2 separate regions of the Homo sapiens genome follow, and region 2 is linked to region 1. The links are contacts of gene promoters, found by promoter capture Hi-C in human tissues and cell types (Jung and others, 2019). All regions are on one chromosome and are shown on one strand. Each heading gives the region's core, a stretch centred on a gene start or on the middle of the fragment in contact. The rest is flanking DNA. Distances are from core to core; before and after follow the strand shown.

What was found. Contacts are between HindIII fragments. The study calls those that stand out against the background at their distance.
Region 2: a fragment that was not itself captured here is called in contact with the fragment with the promoter of ACYP1 in region 1 in 3 of the 25 tissues and cell types used here (mesendoderm cells, psoas muscle and stomach).

What each region holds. Positions count from the first base shown.
Region 1 is chr14:75,059,883-75,067,304 of GRCh38, forward strand. It overlaps ACYP1 (acylphosphatase 1), which reads right to left and starts at 4,142. Exons shown (of 3, transcript NM_001107.5): 1 at 4,072-4,142; 2 at 3,588-3,679. The coding sequence starts at 3,671. RefSeq lists an enhancer at 4,313-4,482. The HindIII fragment of the contact is 1,499 bases long and covers 3,721-5,219 here.
Region 2 is chr14:75,116,618-75,123,640 of GRCh38, forward strand. NEK9 (NIMA related kinase 9) reads right to left here. Exons shown (of 22, transcript NM_033116.6): 3 at 4,502-4,557; 4 at 3,893-3,963; 5 at 2,213-2,318; 6 at 578-709. Among named protein-coding and RNA genes, the nearest start is that of NEK9, 6.9 kb to the right of the region's middle. The HindIII fragment of the contact is 7,023 bases long and covers 2,120-7,023 here.

The DNA of each region.
Region 1 (7,422 bases), core at 2,892-5,391:
TTCCACTTATATGAGGTAACTAGAGCAGTTGAATTAATAGAATGTAGATTTATGATTGTCAGGGGCATGGGGGAAGGAGAAAATGGGGAGTTAGTGTTTAATGAATACAGAGTTTCAGTTTTGCAAGATGAAAAGCGTTCTGTAGATAAACAGAACAATGTGAATGTGCTTAAGACCACTGAATTGTACATTTAAAAATGGTTAGAACAATAATTTCTATGTTATATGTATTCTACCACAATTTTAGAAGTAAGTGTGCTATATGGTTTCCAAATATTTTGGGATTTTCCAGTTATCCTTTTTATTTTTTTAATGTGGTTTAGTTCCACTGTAGTTGGAGAACATTCCTTGATTTAAATCCTTTTAAATTCATTAATACCTGAAAAACAAACAAACAACCACAATGAAATATTACCTCATACCCACTAGGATGGCTAACATAAAAGACAGTAACCATTGTTGGCAAGGATGTGGACAAACTGGAATTCTCACACATTGCCAGTGAGAACATAATATGGTATAGCTACTTTGGAAAAGTTTGGCAGTTCCTCAAAAAGCTAAACATAAAGTTACCATATGACCCAGCAATCTACTCCTAGGTATGTATATACTCAATGGAACTGAAAACATTGTCTACATAAAAATATGTGCATATGTGTTCACAGCACTACTATTCATAATGGCCAAAAATCAGAAACCCAAATTTCCATCAATTGATGAATGGATAAATGAAATGTGGTATATCCATACAATGGAATATTATTCAGCCATAAAAAGGAATAGGATACTAATACATGCTACAGTGTAGATAAACCTTGAAAACAATATGTTAAGTGAAAGGAGCCAGTCACAAAAAAAGGCCACATTTGTATGATTCCATTTATATTAAATATCAAGAATAGGCTGAACACGGTGGCTCATGCGTGTAATCCCAGCACTTTGGGAGGCTGAGGTAGGTGGATCACCTGAGGTGAGGAGTTCAAGACCCAGCCTGGCCAACATGGTGAAACCCCATCTCTACTAAAAATACAAAAGTTAACTGGGCATGGTGGTGCATGCCTGTAATCCCGGCTACCTGGGATGCTGAGGGAGAAGAATCACTTGAACCCAGGAGGCAGAGGTTGCAGTGAGCCGAGATCACGCCACTGCACTCCAGCCTGGGTGACAGAATGAGGCAGAGTTGAGACTCTGTCTCAACAACAACAACAACAACAACAACAATCTAGAATAGGCAAATCCATAGAGACAGAAAGTAGGTTAGTGGTTGCCAGGGGCTCAGGGGATGAGGAGTGAGTGCTAACCTAGGTAGGGGTTTCTTTTTGGGATGATGAAAATGTTCTGGAATTAGTGCAACATTTTGTGAATATACTAAAAATCACCAAATTATACACTTTAGGAGGATGGGTTTTATGGGATGTAAATTATATTCCAAGTTTTCAAAAGTCCCTGAATTATTATTTGTCACTTCTCTAGAAATGAAGGAATTTAAATAAGAGGCTAGATAATATCAACAGCAAACATTGCAGCAAAACAACTGTTCAAATGAACATATATATTTAAATGATTATAAATAGTAAAGAATAAGCTACAAGCCTAATTAAGAAAAAATAGATGTCATTTTATATGCAGTTTTCCAATCAATATTTGTTTTTCTGCATTCTGTTATTCTCTCTTTAAACTGGGGAGAGGGGCAGGTAGAGAAAGATGGGCTATGCATACCACTATCTGACCCTTTTCCCTCAACAACTTTGACTAATCTTTGAAGCTGTTATCTCAATCACCTTAATTTACAGGAACTTACCTGCATAACTGGTAGCAAAGCTAACTGGAACACAGCTCTTGCTGTGAGTTTCAGCAATTCTGTTTTCAACAGTCATTTCCTATTTGAGTGTCAGATGGGAAGAAATGATTTTTGAATAATTAGAAAAAGAGGTATTGGCCGGGCACAGTGGCTCACACCTGTAATCCCAACACTTTGGGAGGCCAAGGTGGGCGGATCACCTGAGGTTGGGAGTTCAAGACCAGCCTGACCAACATGGAAAAACCCTGTCTCTACTAAAAATACAAAATTAGCGGGGCATGGTGGCACATGCCTGTAATCTCAGCTACTTGGGAAGCTGAAGTAGGAGAAACGCTTGAACCCGGGAGGCGGACGTTGCGGTGAGCTGAGATCGTGCCATTGCACTCCAGCCTGGGCAAAAAGAATGAAACTCTGTCTCAAAAAAAAAAAAAAAAAAAAAAAGAAAAGAAAAGAAAAAGAGGTATTGGCTGGGTATGGTCACTCATGCCTGTAATCCCAGCACACTGGTGGGAGGCCGAGGCAGAAGGATCACTTGAGCCTGGGAGTTTGAGACCAGCCTGGGCAACATAGCTCTCTGTTAAAAGAGAAAAAAAAAAAAAAAGCTGGGTGTGGCGGCATGCACCTGTGGTCCCAGCTACTTGGGAGGCTGAGGAAGGAGGATCATTTGAGCCTGGGAGGTTAAGGCTGCAATAAGCTGTGACTGTGCCACCATCCTTCAGAAAAAAAAAAGAAAAAGGGAAAGAGGTATTGACAATTCACATTCATGTTTCAAAGATTCCTTCCAGGTTAGAATTTGAATTTTAAGTACCACAGTCCCAGGAATGAGACACTTAAGAAGTTCTGCAGTCCTGGCCGGGTGCGGTGGCTCACACCTGTAATCCCAGCACTTGGGGAGGCTGAGGCGGATGGATCACGAGGCCAGGAGTTCAAGACCAGCCTGGCCAAGATGGTGAAACCCTGTCTCTACTAAAAATACAAAAAAAAAAAAAAAAAAAAAAGAAGTTTTGCAGTCCTAACTCATTATCTGTGGGATTAGCGACACACTGGGAAGGCAATAGCCAATACCTACAGAAGGCAGAGGGTAAATTGAGCTTGCATTTGTGTGTGCCTGTTGAGGGAAGATTAGCCACATTAAAGCAGAGGTAGAGGCTGCCAACAGTTTGTCCATCCCCTCAAATAATCCTTTATTGCTCTAGGAAGAATACCAGGCTCCACATTCAGTGTTCCCATCACCTATTCTGGAATGGATAAAGAGTTTTTAATAAGAAAAACGTCAGCTGGAAAAGGTAAATGTTCTTTCAAAACCAAAAAAGAATAGAAAGAAATTAAGTGGAGAACTGAGGGAAGCTTGGAGAAAGAGGTCTGAAGAAAGTGCAGCAGCTGCAGAGGAAGCATTTATATATGTTATATACATGACATCAGGTCATCTAAATGCCAGCTCTTCAATCAATGTTAGCCTTTCTATAAGAAACCTGACTTGGTTTGATGATGCCACAACGGCGAGCACTGGGGAAGCCCTCTATTTCCCTTGGAAGAGAGAAGCTCATTAATATGTGTATCTAGATGCTCAGGCACCACTGACTAATAATAACAGCAGGGTGATCTTCCATTTACACCATGTTTTACCGATTGCACAGCATTTTCATACTCATTGCTCTACAAACTACCTCTTTGCCATGCAGCTACCAAATAGCCAGCGGCTTCTAGTTCACATTTGTCAAGAACACGTCCCTTGTTCCTATGCCCACAACCTAGGTTACCACCCCAAAGCCTGCAGGCCACATACCTGAGTATGCTTACGGAAAAACACCCCTTGCACCTTCCCAAAAATTTCATAATCCACTGATATCAGGGTGTTTCCTTCTGCCATGCTCAAACCTGTCAGAAACCAGGAAAGCAGAAGAGTGAAGGGCTATTATTCCAGGACCCGCAAGCCTGAGTCAGAAAGGGCCACACCCACCCCTGTCCATCCTTAACCATTGCGACCTCTCCCCGACTTCAAGGTCCTGGAAATGGAAACGTGAGTGGATGTGATAAGGTGTGTGTGAAGGAAGAACCAGACGCCGGGAGAGGGAGCTTCGGATCGCAGCTGCCCGCTGAAGCCTCTTCTGGGGAAATAACCTGAGGACCGATGACCTCCTTACATCCATGCCCGGTCCCGCTCCCTCACTACCAGAATTCCCTGCTACTAACTCCCAGAATCCCCTGCTACTAACATTTTAGGGCTAATCGACCTGAGAAGCACACCCTGGGGGCCCCTGGCGGCTCACCCTCCTTGTCTTCCCCACCGGCTGCCAGGATCACTCCGGGACCACCACGCCAACGGCTCACCAAGGCGCGCAAACCTCCGCGCCCGGAAGTTTAGTGTGTAGCTGCTCCTTCGCTGTCGCTCATGCCCATCACCTCCAGCTGACCAATCAGAGACGGCGCCTCGGCCCGGGCCCGCCCAGAAGGTGGGATTTCAGGACGCGGTTGTCCGGCAACCCAAAAGCTTTGGGTTGGGGATCTGTCCAGGAACTCGGCTGGGCCTCCACAAACCTAGCCCTCATCGCATCTCAGTCAACAAGCGCAACCCTCTTCTCATTTTCTCATGAGGAGAAAGGCATAGACGAAGAAGTACATGGGGATACATTCAATCATTCAATTAAATACTGACTGACAGCTACTGTGTGCCAGGCACCTGTTCTAGGTGACCAGGCAAACATCAGTGAACAAAACAGGATCCCTGTCCTGAGGAGCTTAATTCTGGAGGTGAGAGACAAACAGCACACATTAAACATCATAAATAGCTTGTAATCTCAGCACTTTGGGAGGCCGACACGGGCGAATCACTTGAGGTCAGGAGTTCGAGAGCAGCCTGGCCAACATGGTGAAACCCCGTTTCTACCAAAAATACAAAAATTGGCCGGGCATGGTGGCGGGCGCCTGTAATCCCAGCTACTCGGGAGGCTGAGGCAGGAGAATCGCTTGAACCTGGGAGGTGGAGGCTGCAGTGAGCCGAGATTGCCCCACTGCACTCCAGCCTGGGCAACAGAGGGAGACTCTGACTCAAATAAATAAATTAATAAATAAAAAAATAAACATCATAAATATGTTGAGTAGGATACATTTAACCTTTCTGTCCTTTTTCATTCAGTTCTCCTTAAAGTTTGGGTCATAACAATCTGGAATAGGGGATTACGGGGCATAAGTGCACAGGAGGTCCCAATGGAGGTTATGTCTGCTTCTGGGCTTCTGGAAGCTACTCACCGGTCTCCTTTACTAAGAAAATGTCAAATAATGCTTGAACAAATAACCAGCTAACTACACAAATAAAGCAAGAGCACAAGCAAAATAACTCATGGCTCCAGAATTACAGTTGAGTCAGTCAATCTAAGCCAAATGGCCAAACTACACGAATTTATTTTGGGAACAGGGAATTGTCAAGGGGGATGTGGATGAAGATGGTTAAAATTAGAGTTGATGTGTAAACATTTGAATCCAGCTACCCTTATGATTCATGTGTGTGAAGGAAAACTGTGGTGTTTATTGATCCTCTGTGGATTGACTGTATACATTACACCTCTTCATAACGTAAAGACTCCTTATGTGAATATGCCAGGTTGGCAGACTTGACAATGAGATATGGGTTTGTGACAGTAGGCACGGAAATTCATCATTCTGCTAGTTCCCCGCTAGAGTGAGGATCCATATCCTAGAGAATCATACAACCTTAGTGCTGAGAGGTGGGGGGTTGGTGGTGAACAAGCTGGATTGAATGTTGTACTTGGCAATATTTGAAAATAACTCTAAATAGAGTATCTTGCTAATGGTATTTCTTTCTCTAAAATTCATTTAAAAAATAGTTTATAGAATTCAAAACTTACTGAGTGTCTAATACGAATGGGGCACTCTAGGATATACAAAGATGAATGATATAAAATCTTTGCCCTCAAAGAGTTTTTAATTTAGTGTAGGGGCACAAATGCATGCAAATAATGACAATAAAATATATGGCATGATAATTTAATTCCATGAAAATCCATTGAGAGCTCATCAGGAACCAGCCCTGTGCTATAACAAGGACAGAAAATATTACAAAGGAGCAAACAAATTAATTCTGATTGGGAAGACAGGGAAAGAGTTCTTGGAGGAAACAGCATTTAATCCAAGGTCACACAACCAGTAAGTGATGGAGCTGGGATTTGGTTCCAGAGTCAATCCCCATGAATGCTATGCTCTACCAGCTCCCAGTATGTGGAGCTTAGAGTAATGTAGTACCATGGAGATGAAGAAGTACAAGTAGCCAGTTGTGGCTAGACCAGGGGTTTGCTACCCTGCTTGTGCATCAGGATCTTTGGGGAAGCTTTAAAAATGTTAATCCTCAGGCCTCACCCCTAGATATTGCTTTCCAAGTAGTCTTAACACACAGTCAGGGATGAGACTCACTGGGTTGAACTCTGTGGCTTATTAAGGGGAGGCAAAACTGAAAAGGTAGGCTGGACCTAATCTGGGAGGTAGAGATGCCATGCTAAATTATGCATTTCAACTTTATTCTATAGGTAAAGAAGAAGCTACTGGGGAGGGAAATGGTAGGATCAGAAGCATTTAGTAATTAGCTTGATTTAATCACTGCACAATGCATACATTATCAAAACATCACTTTGTACACTGCAAATATAGATATAATTTTTGCTTGTCAATTATATTTTAATAAAGCTGGGGGGGGGTGGAGAAATATTTAGACTGATTATTTTGCCTGCAGCATGAAGGATGGGTTTGAAGAGCAGATATTGAAGGCAAGAGCAGAAGTTAGGAGGGCTATGCCATCCCAAGGAGAAGTGAGGAAAAACTCACCTGGGGCAGCAGAAATGTAAAGGAAGAGTCATATATGAGAGACATTGCAGAAGTAAACTCAATAGGCCAGGCGTGATGGCTCACGTTTGTAATCCCAGCACTTTGGGAGGCTAAGGCAGGTGGATCACCTGAGGTCAGGAGTTTGAGACTGATGAAACCCCATCTCTACTAAAAATACAGAAATTAGTTGGGCGTGGTGGTGCACACCTGTACTTCCAGCTACTAGGGAGGCCAAGGCAGGAGGATTGCTTGAACCTGAGAGGCAGAGGTTGCAGTGAGCTGAGATCGCGCCACTCCACCCCCATCTGGATGACAGAGCAAGACTGTCTCAAAGAAAAAAAGGAAGAAAACTCAATAAAACTTGTGATTAGTTAGAAGGAAGAGGCAACAAAGAGGGAAGCATGGAAGACTGATGCTGTGAGCATGCAAGGGCACACTGGAGAGGCAGATTTGAGAATGGGAGAGGATCAGAGTTTATGTTGTCTTACAGAATTTGAGGTTCCTAAGGAACAATCTTGTGGAGGTGTCAAATGGGCAGTCCTGAAATTTGAGTCTGTAACTAATGAGAAAGACTAAAGCTAAGCTGGCTGTCATTTAAACACAGGTGAAACCTGAAATTTCAGCATTTGGTTGAAATCATTAAAGAAGAGAATGTCTGGAACTACACACACACACACACACACACACACACACACACACACACACACATATATATGAAATAAGAGGGCTTCAGAAAACACTTAAATTTAGGGAGTAGATGGGGAAAAGATAAATGCCAGACTTGG
Region 2 (7,023 bases), core at 4,381-6,880, 58 kb after region 1:
AAATTTAATTTAATTTTAATTTTTTTTTGAGACAGGGTCTTGCTCTGTTGCCCAGGCTGGAGTACAGTGGTGCGATCTTGGCTTACTGCAGTCTCCACTTCCCGGGTTCAAGTGATCATTTCAACAGGGAATTCAAGTTGGAGATTTTTTTGAGACAGAGTCTTGCTCTGTTGCCCAGGCTGGAGTGCAGTGGCATGATCTTGGCTCACTGCAACCTCCACCTCCTGGGTTCAAGCAATTTTTGTGCCTCAGCCTCTCAAATAGCTGGGATTACAGGTGTGCGCCACCACACCCGGCTGAGTTTTGTATTTCTAATGGAGACGGGGTTTCACCATGTTGGCCGGGGTGACCTCAAGTGATCCACCCACCTCGGCCTCCCAAAATGCTGGGATTACAGGCGTGAGCCACTGCGCCTGGCTGGGTCTATAGCATTTTAGTAATAGATTACTAATCTTGTACCTGAATACAGGTTATTTTTGCCAGAAATCAGAAGCCTGGGAATAGAGTTGATCTGCTTAGTCAAGCTGTACCATTTGCAACCTGCTAAATGCAATATGGGGATAATATGCCAACTTACTGTAGCATCAAACGTCCTCTTTAAGGTAAGCAGTTCAAAAATGACGCAGCCAACTGCCCAGATATCAGACTTGAAATTGTACTTTACTCCTTGACAGAGCTCTGGAGACATGTAATATGGGGTTCCCACAAGCTGAGCAACAAAGAAACAATCAAAGAATAACTTCTTTTCTGAGGTAACTATGTTAACATTTCAACAGCTTAATTAAATTTCCTAGGAACTAGTCATAACAACCATAAAACATTCATCAGCAGATTCCAAAATGGTTTTTATGAGACGATGCCACTATGGAAAGAAATCTTATTCATATCAAACCTCTTGGGTCAATTATAAAGGGACAATCTCTGTGACAAAGGAACTGTGGTAACTTGAGGGGCTCAATAGCTCTGTGATTCCTAGATCACAGAGGCTTCAGGCATTCAAGGCCTACTGAAGACTTTACACAAACTTAAAGACATACTTAGTAGAAGTTCACCAATGGGAAAAAAATCCAAACACTGGCAGTGGGGAGATGGTAACTCAATGAAGGAATTAGATGTTCTAACTAAAATACGCGCAATGAAACTTTTAAAATGCCCAATTTGGCATCTGTTATACTAACACAGCTAGCGAATTTCCTTTGAATTTGAAAAAGATTTTCTGACTTCAAAAATAAATTTGGAAATAAAAATGTCCTAAGAAGTCATGCCTCTCCCAAGATGAGATATAATGAATGCCCTAGCAGCTCTAATAAAATTCATAGTCAGCTTTAAGCAGCAAAGCAAAGCAAATTTCAGATGGCTTACATGGCTTTTATAAATTTTCATATCATTCCTTCTTTGCATTTAACTAGCTAAAAAAAGTCAAGTCTTGGTTTTATCAGATTGTTCTTGATGAGAAAAATCCATATAAAGATATGATTGCTTCTTCAGAAGCTCACTTTGGCCTCCATCATAGAAACATCTGAGTCCCTGAAGCAGAGACTCCAAACCCTAAACATCTAAATTGCTTGCAGGCAAACCTTGACATTATTAAAAAAAAAATTATTGGCCAAAATCAGTTTTCAATTTCTTTTAAGGACAGAGCATTGTGAAACTAGAAGAATAACAACTGGGTTTTATAATTCCTAAAAGGATAAGATTACTGTCCTAAAGATCAACTTATGTCTACTCTTTACCAATGATCTTTCTCAAAATCATGTGAGAAGGGACCCCTGTGCAGTTCAGACTGTGTATAATATTAAAGAATGGATTGTTCTCTGAGCATCAGCCTTCACTTGAAATATAGGGTTCTCTTTGAACCAGAAGCATTCAAAGGAAAAACAAAGAGATGTCTAACACCTTGAGCTCAAACATTAAATAAGAGATAAAGTGAAATCTACTAAAGATCCTAACCTGGACAAAACAGTAAAGCATTTTGCTGCTTTTAGATAAGTCCCTAATCAGTGCTGGAAAAAGGCTATGAGGTCAGAGCTGTAACGTGGGCAATGACTTAAATGCCTGCTAGTGGGCCCAGGAAAAAGACTTCTGAAGACATGCATTAAAAGTATGGAGAACTTGCAAGAATATTGAGAAAAGTATGCAAGATTTAGGGAGTACAGTTATATTTCACAGTGCTAGAAAATAAAATAAAAATTAAGACAAGGGCAACACATACCGTCTCAGCCATGGAATACTCAGAATTAAGTTTCTTTGCTAGGCCATAATCTCCAAGTTTTATCAGGTTTGCCTTGGTCAGAAAAATATTTAATGTCTTTATATCTCTGAAAAAAAAAGATGCTGCAAATTAAGTTCACACAGATAATTGTTTTATTTCATCCCCCGCCTTGCCCAGGATTATTACAGAATAAAAATGAGTGTGGGCCGGGTACAGTGGCTCACATCTGTAATCTCAGCACTTTGGGAGGGCAAGGCAGGAGTACTGCTTGAGGCCAGGAGTTCTTCACCAGCCTGGGCAACATGGTGAGACCCCATCTCTACAAAAAATAAATTAGTCAGGAGTGGTGGCATACACTTGTAGTCCTAGCTTCTCGGGAGGTTAAAGCACCGAGAATCAGTTGAGCCCAGGAGGCTGAGGCTGCAGTGAGTCATGATTGCACCACTACATTCCAGCCTGGGCAACAGGGTGAGACCCTGTCTCAAAAACTAAAACAAAATAAAACAAAAAAAGAGTGTTACCATTGCTCATTCATTTAGGATATCCTAAACATCCCACAGTGGTCATCACTTTCACATGCTATTTAACACTGAAGTGGGGACTTTAAAGGAGTGAAGGCAGAGAATTAACTTCATCCTCTAGGGCTTCACAGCATAGAAATATCTCCCATACTACTGAAGCTATTAGGAAAAGTTGAGACGGTCAGATGAGGAAAATGGTGCTCTAGGTAACCATAATTCCCATAAGATACCACACCTCTTCAACTATCACTTATGCCTTGAATTAAGTGATATCAAGGCAACTTTAACAAACTTGGTTGGTGTCAAAGTTTCAAATAATCTGTTAAGGCAAGAGAAGAGGCCTACATGTCCCTGCAATGATATGATTAGGCCATTTAGTCATCTAAATAAAATCACAGGCTATTTTTCTAAAGATAAATTGACCATATGTAAAACAAAATAACTGTGCCTGGTTCACTATGTCTTCCTTTATTGAAAGATGCGAATAAACCAGAACAATATACTTTGTTACTTTTAAAAAGAAAATAACAACATGCAACAGAAGCCATTTAATAGCTATCAAGAAATACATGTTAACTGAATGAACAAACCAATAAAAAAAGAAATCTTAGTGTATTATAATTAATCTCTGGCACCAGTCAATGACTCACTTAAGAAGGGCATAATGATGTGAAAATGTTATTGAGATGCTTCTCTTCTATAGCTAGAAATGAATGCAATCATGCTTGTTTTTAAAGATCTGGTAAATTTGTACAAGTAAATATACAGAGTGAAGAGGCTTTTATTTAAATTAAAAGATCTTAATTATAGAATTAAAAAGAATTGCCAATTATTATTGCTGTGAATTCTTACCAAATACTACTTCTCATAGTGCCCTTCTAGGCTTTACTGATGAATTAACAAACTGAACTCTAAAATTTTTGTCTGTAAAATGACTTCAGTAGTACTTGGCTACTGAGGAGACTCTTCCTAGATCATAAACATGGTTTAACCTCAGGGAGTGAAAATAATATTGCTCATTACTTTCCTTTCCTAGTGATATCAATGGAAAAACTCTTGGCTGCTTAACCAAGAAAATAAAAGTGTTGTTGGGGGGGTATCCACGGTAGGGGCTGAATTGGTAGGGAAGAATCCATCCATAATTTTTTTTACTTCTTACCTATGAAGGATTCCAGCTTTATGGATGCAGCTCACTGCTGAAACAATCTGAAATAGGTACCACACCACCATCTGCAGAGAAAAAATAAATATTTGGATTAGAAACAAAAAGCTCCATTTAAGTAAATACACACACACATAAACAAACAAAACAAAGAAAACTGCAACCAGAAGTTATGATTCAACATGACTTGACATCTCTTCCTTGCAGGTTGAGTAGGCAAAGAAAAGTGAAGGGGTAAAAAACCACAAAAAACAGGTTCCTCATAAAATAGTTCCAATGTCATTATAATATATAGTATGGTAAAGCAGACATGTAGGAAAATTCAGGAAGAATGCAAAGTTATAGAAAACTGGGCATACCAGTACGCAGTAATAGAACCAGGAAAGAAAGCCCACAGAGAATCATGATGTGGAGGTAAAACGTTTAGGAAGCAGCTATAGACAGCTTCCTTGTTAGAGGTTTCCTTTCTCATGAATATCAGAGCCTGGAAGGAGTCTGAACAAAAGGAAAAAAACACTCTTCACTATTGGAAGAGTAAATACAGAACTAGAATGCAAGAATTACAACACTACAATTCTAACTTCCTTCCACAGAAATATGAATTACCTCTTCCTCAAACAACTTGTCCTTCTGACGAAGGATTTTGTCATACAGGTTCCCTCCTGCAATTAAACAAGACACAGATTTGAATTGCTTAATACAGATCAAAGCTTGGCTCCTGTAACAGGTTTTTTTAGGTGACACAAGGAAATGAAGGATTCTGCTTTCTCTCCATAGGCAACTACTTCTTTTGACTTTTCACATGGGCACAAAACTCTTCCCATCTCTCAAGGACCGCATCAGAAATATTCTTCAAAGATCTCCCTCTCTAACACAAGAGGCGTAATTAAAAAAAAGACATTTTTAGAAAAGATGTGAGTAAAGACCATTCTTGTTGTTCCCAACAAGTGAAGTATATTCAAAATCAGATTTCTTTTCTAGAACTCTCCTTTAAGGACTCTACAATATTTTTGTAACAACTCTCCCAGTTGTGACTACTATAACATCTGGATTAGGCTGGGCACATTGGCTCACGCCTATAATCCCAGCACTTTGGGAGGCTGAGGTGGGCAAATCATTTGGGTTTGGGAATTTAAGACCAGCCTGGGCAACACGGCAAAACCCTTGTCTCTACCAAAAATACAAAAAGTTAGCCAGCTGTTGGGGCATGTGCCTGTGGTCCCAGCTAATCAGGAGGCTAAGGTGGGAGGGTCGCCTGAGCGTGGGAGGATCGCCTGAGCCTGGGAGGCGGAGGTTGCAGTGAGCTGGGATCGCACCACTGCACTCCAGGCTGGGTGACAGTGAGAGTCTATCTCAGGAAAAAAAGAAAAAAATTGGGTTACACCTGTGATGCAATGTTTTGTATTTATAGGGTATATATTGACAAATTTTCTACTTCACACCGAAATATTTCCCAAAATTTAGGGTCTACCCCTAGACTGTTTCCTATCATTACTCTCTTTACTAATTTCTTCCTGTGGAATAAGTGTGAATTTACTTCTCTCTTTCCTTTACCAAGTAATACAGACTGCAAGTAATCATGGTTCATCTTACATCCCACCTGCAACTATAACTTACACTTTAGCCCTGGGTAAGTTTTTACAACTTCTTTTCCCCTGCAACTTAATAACTCAGTTTCAATAAATGTATCATTTGTTCCAGTTCTTCCTAACCACAAAAGAAGTTAACTACCTAGGGCTTCTGCTACTTCGAAAATTTTTAACAGAATCTTGTATATGGCATTGATCACCAATGATCATAATATACAAGAGTTTACACAAGGAAGTCGTAAGTGACGAATATGCTGGGACCTCTTTAGCATGCAGTTCAGAAAAGGGCTTTGGAGGTTCTCCTGTGCAATAAGATGATTAACAGCTAGTACAGTATGTAGCAAACACTTTCTACCTACCAAGCACTATGCATGTAATACAACAATCCTAGAAAGTAGGTACTGTTATCAACAAACTTTTTTTTTTTGAGATGGAGTCTCGCTCTGTCACCAGGCTGCAGTGGCATGATCTCCACTCACTGCAACCTCCAACTCCCTGGTTCAAGCGATTCTCCTGCCTCAGCCTCCCGAGTAGCTGGGATTACAGGCACGCGCCACCATGCACAGCTAATTTTTGTTATTTTTAGTAGAGACTGGGTTTAACCATGTTGGCCAGGATGGTCTCGATCTCCTGACCTTGTGATCCTCCCAAAGTGTTGGGATTACAGGCGTGAGCCACCACGCCCAGCTTTTTTTTTTTTTTTTTTTTTTTTGAGACAGGGTCTGGCTCCATCGCCCAGGCTGGAGTGCAGCGGTCTGAGCTCACAAGCTCACTGCAACCTCTGCCTCCCAGTCTCAAGCCATCCTCCCTCCTCAGCCTCCCAAGTAGCTGTGACTACAGGTGCACACCACCCAGCTAATTTTTTGTATTTTTGGTAGTGACAGGGTTTCACTATGTTGCCTAGGCTTTCCTCAAACTCCTATGCTCAAGTGATCTGCTTGTCTTGGCTTCTCAAAGCGCTGGGATTACAGGTGTGCACTGTCCCTGGCCAACAAACTCATTTTAAAATGACAAAACTGCTGGGCATGGTGGCTTAAGCCTGTAATCCCAGCACTTTGGGAGGCGGAGGTGGGCGGATCACCTAAGGTCAGGAGTTCGAGACCAGTCTGGCCAACGTGGCAAAACCCTGTCTCTACTAAAAATACAAAAATTAGCTGGGCGTGGTGGCGCATGCCTGTAATCCCAGCTACTTGGGAGGCTGAGGCAGGAGAATTGCTTGAACCCAGGAGGCGGAGGTTGTGGTGAGCCAAGATGGCACCATTGCACTCCAGCCTTTACTCCAACAAGAGTAAAACTCCATCTCAAAAAAAATAATAATAATAATAAAAATAAAATGAGGAAACTGAGGCACAGAGAAGTTAAGTTTCTTGCCAAGGTTATAGAGCTAGAAAGTAGAGAAACTTGGTTTTAGAGTCTATTTTCTTAACAACTAGGCTATATTGCTATCTTACAAGCAAAATGATGTGAAGAAATCAGGGACCAGATAAATAGGGCCATGCTTTACTATATATTACTTTCACTCAGTTATGATCTTTGGAC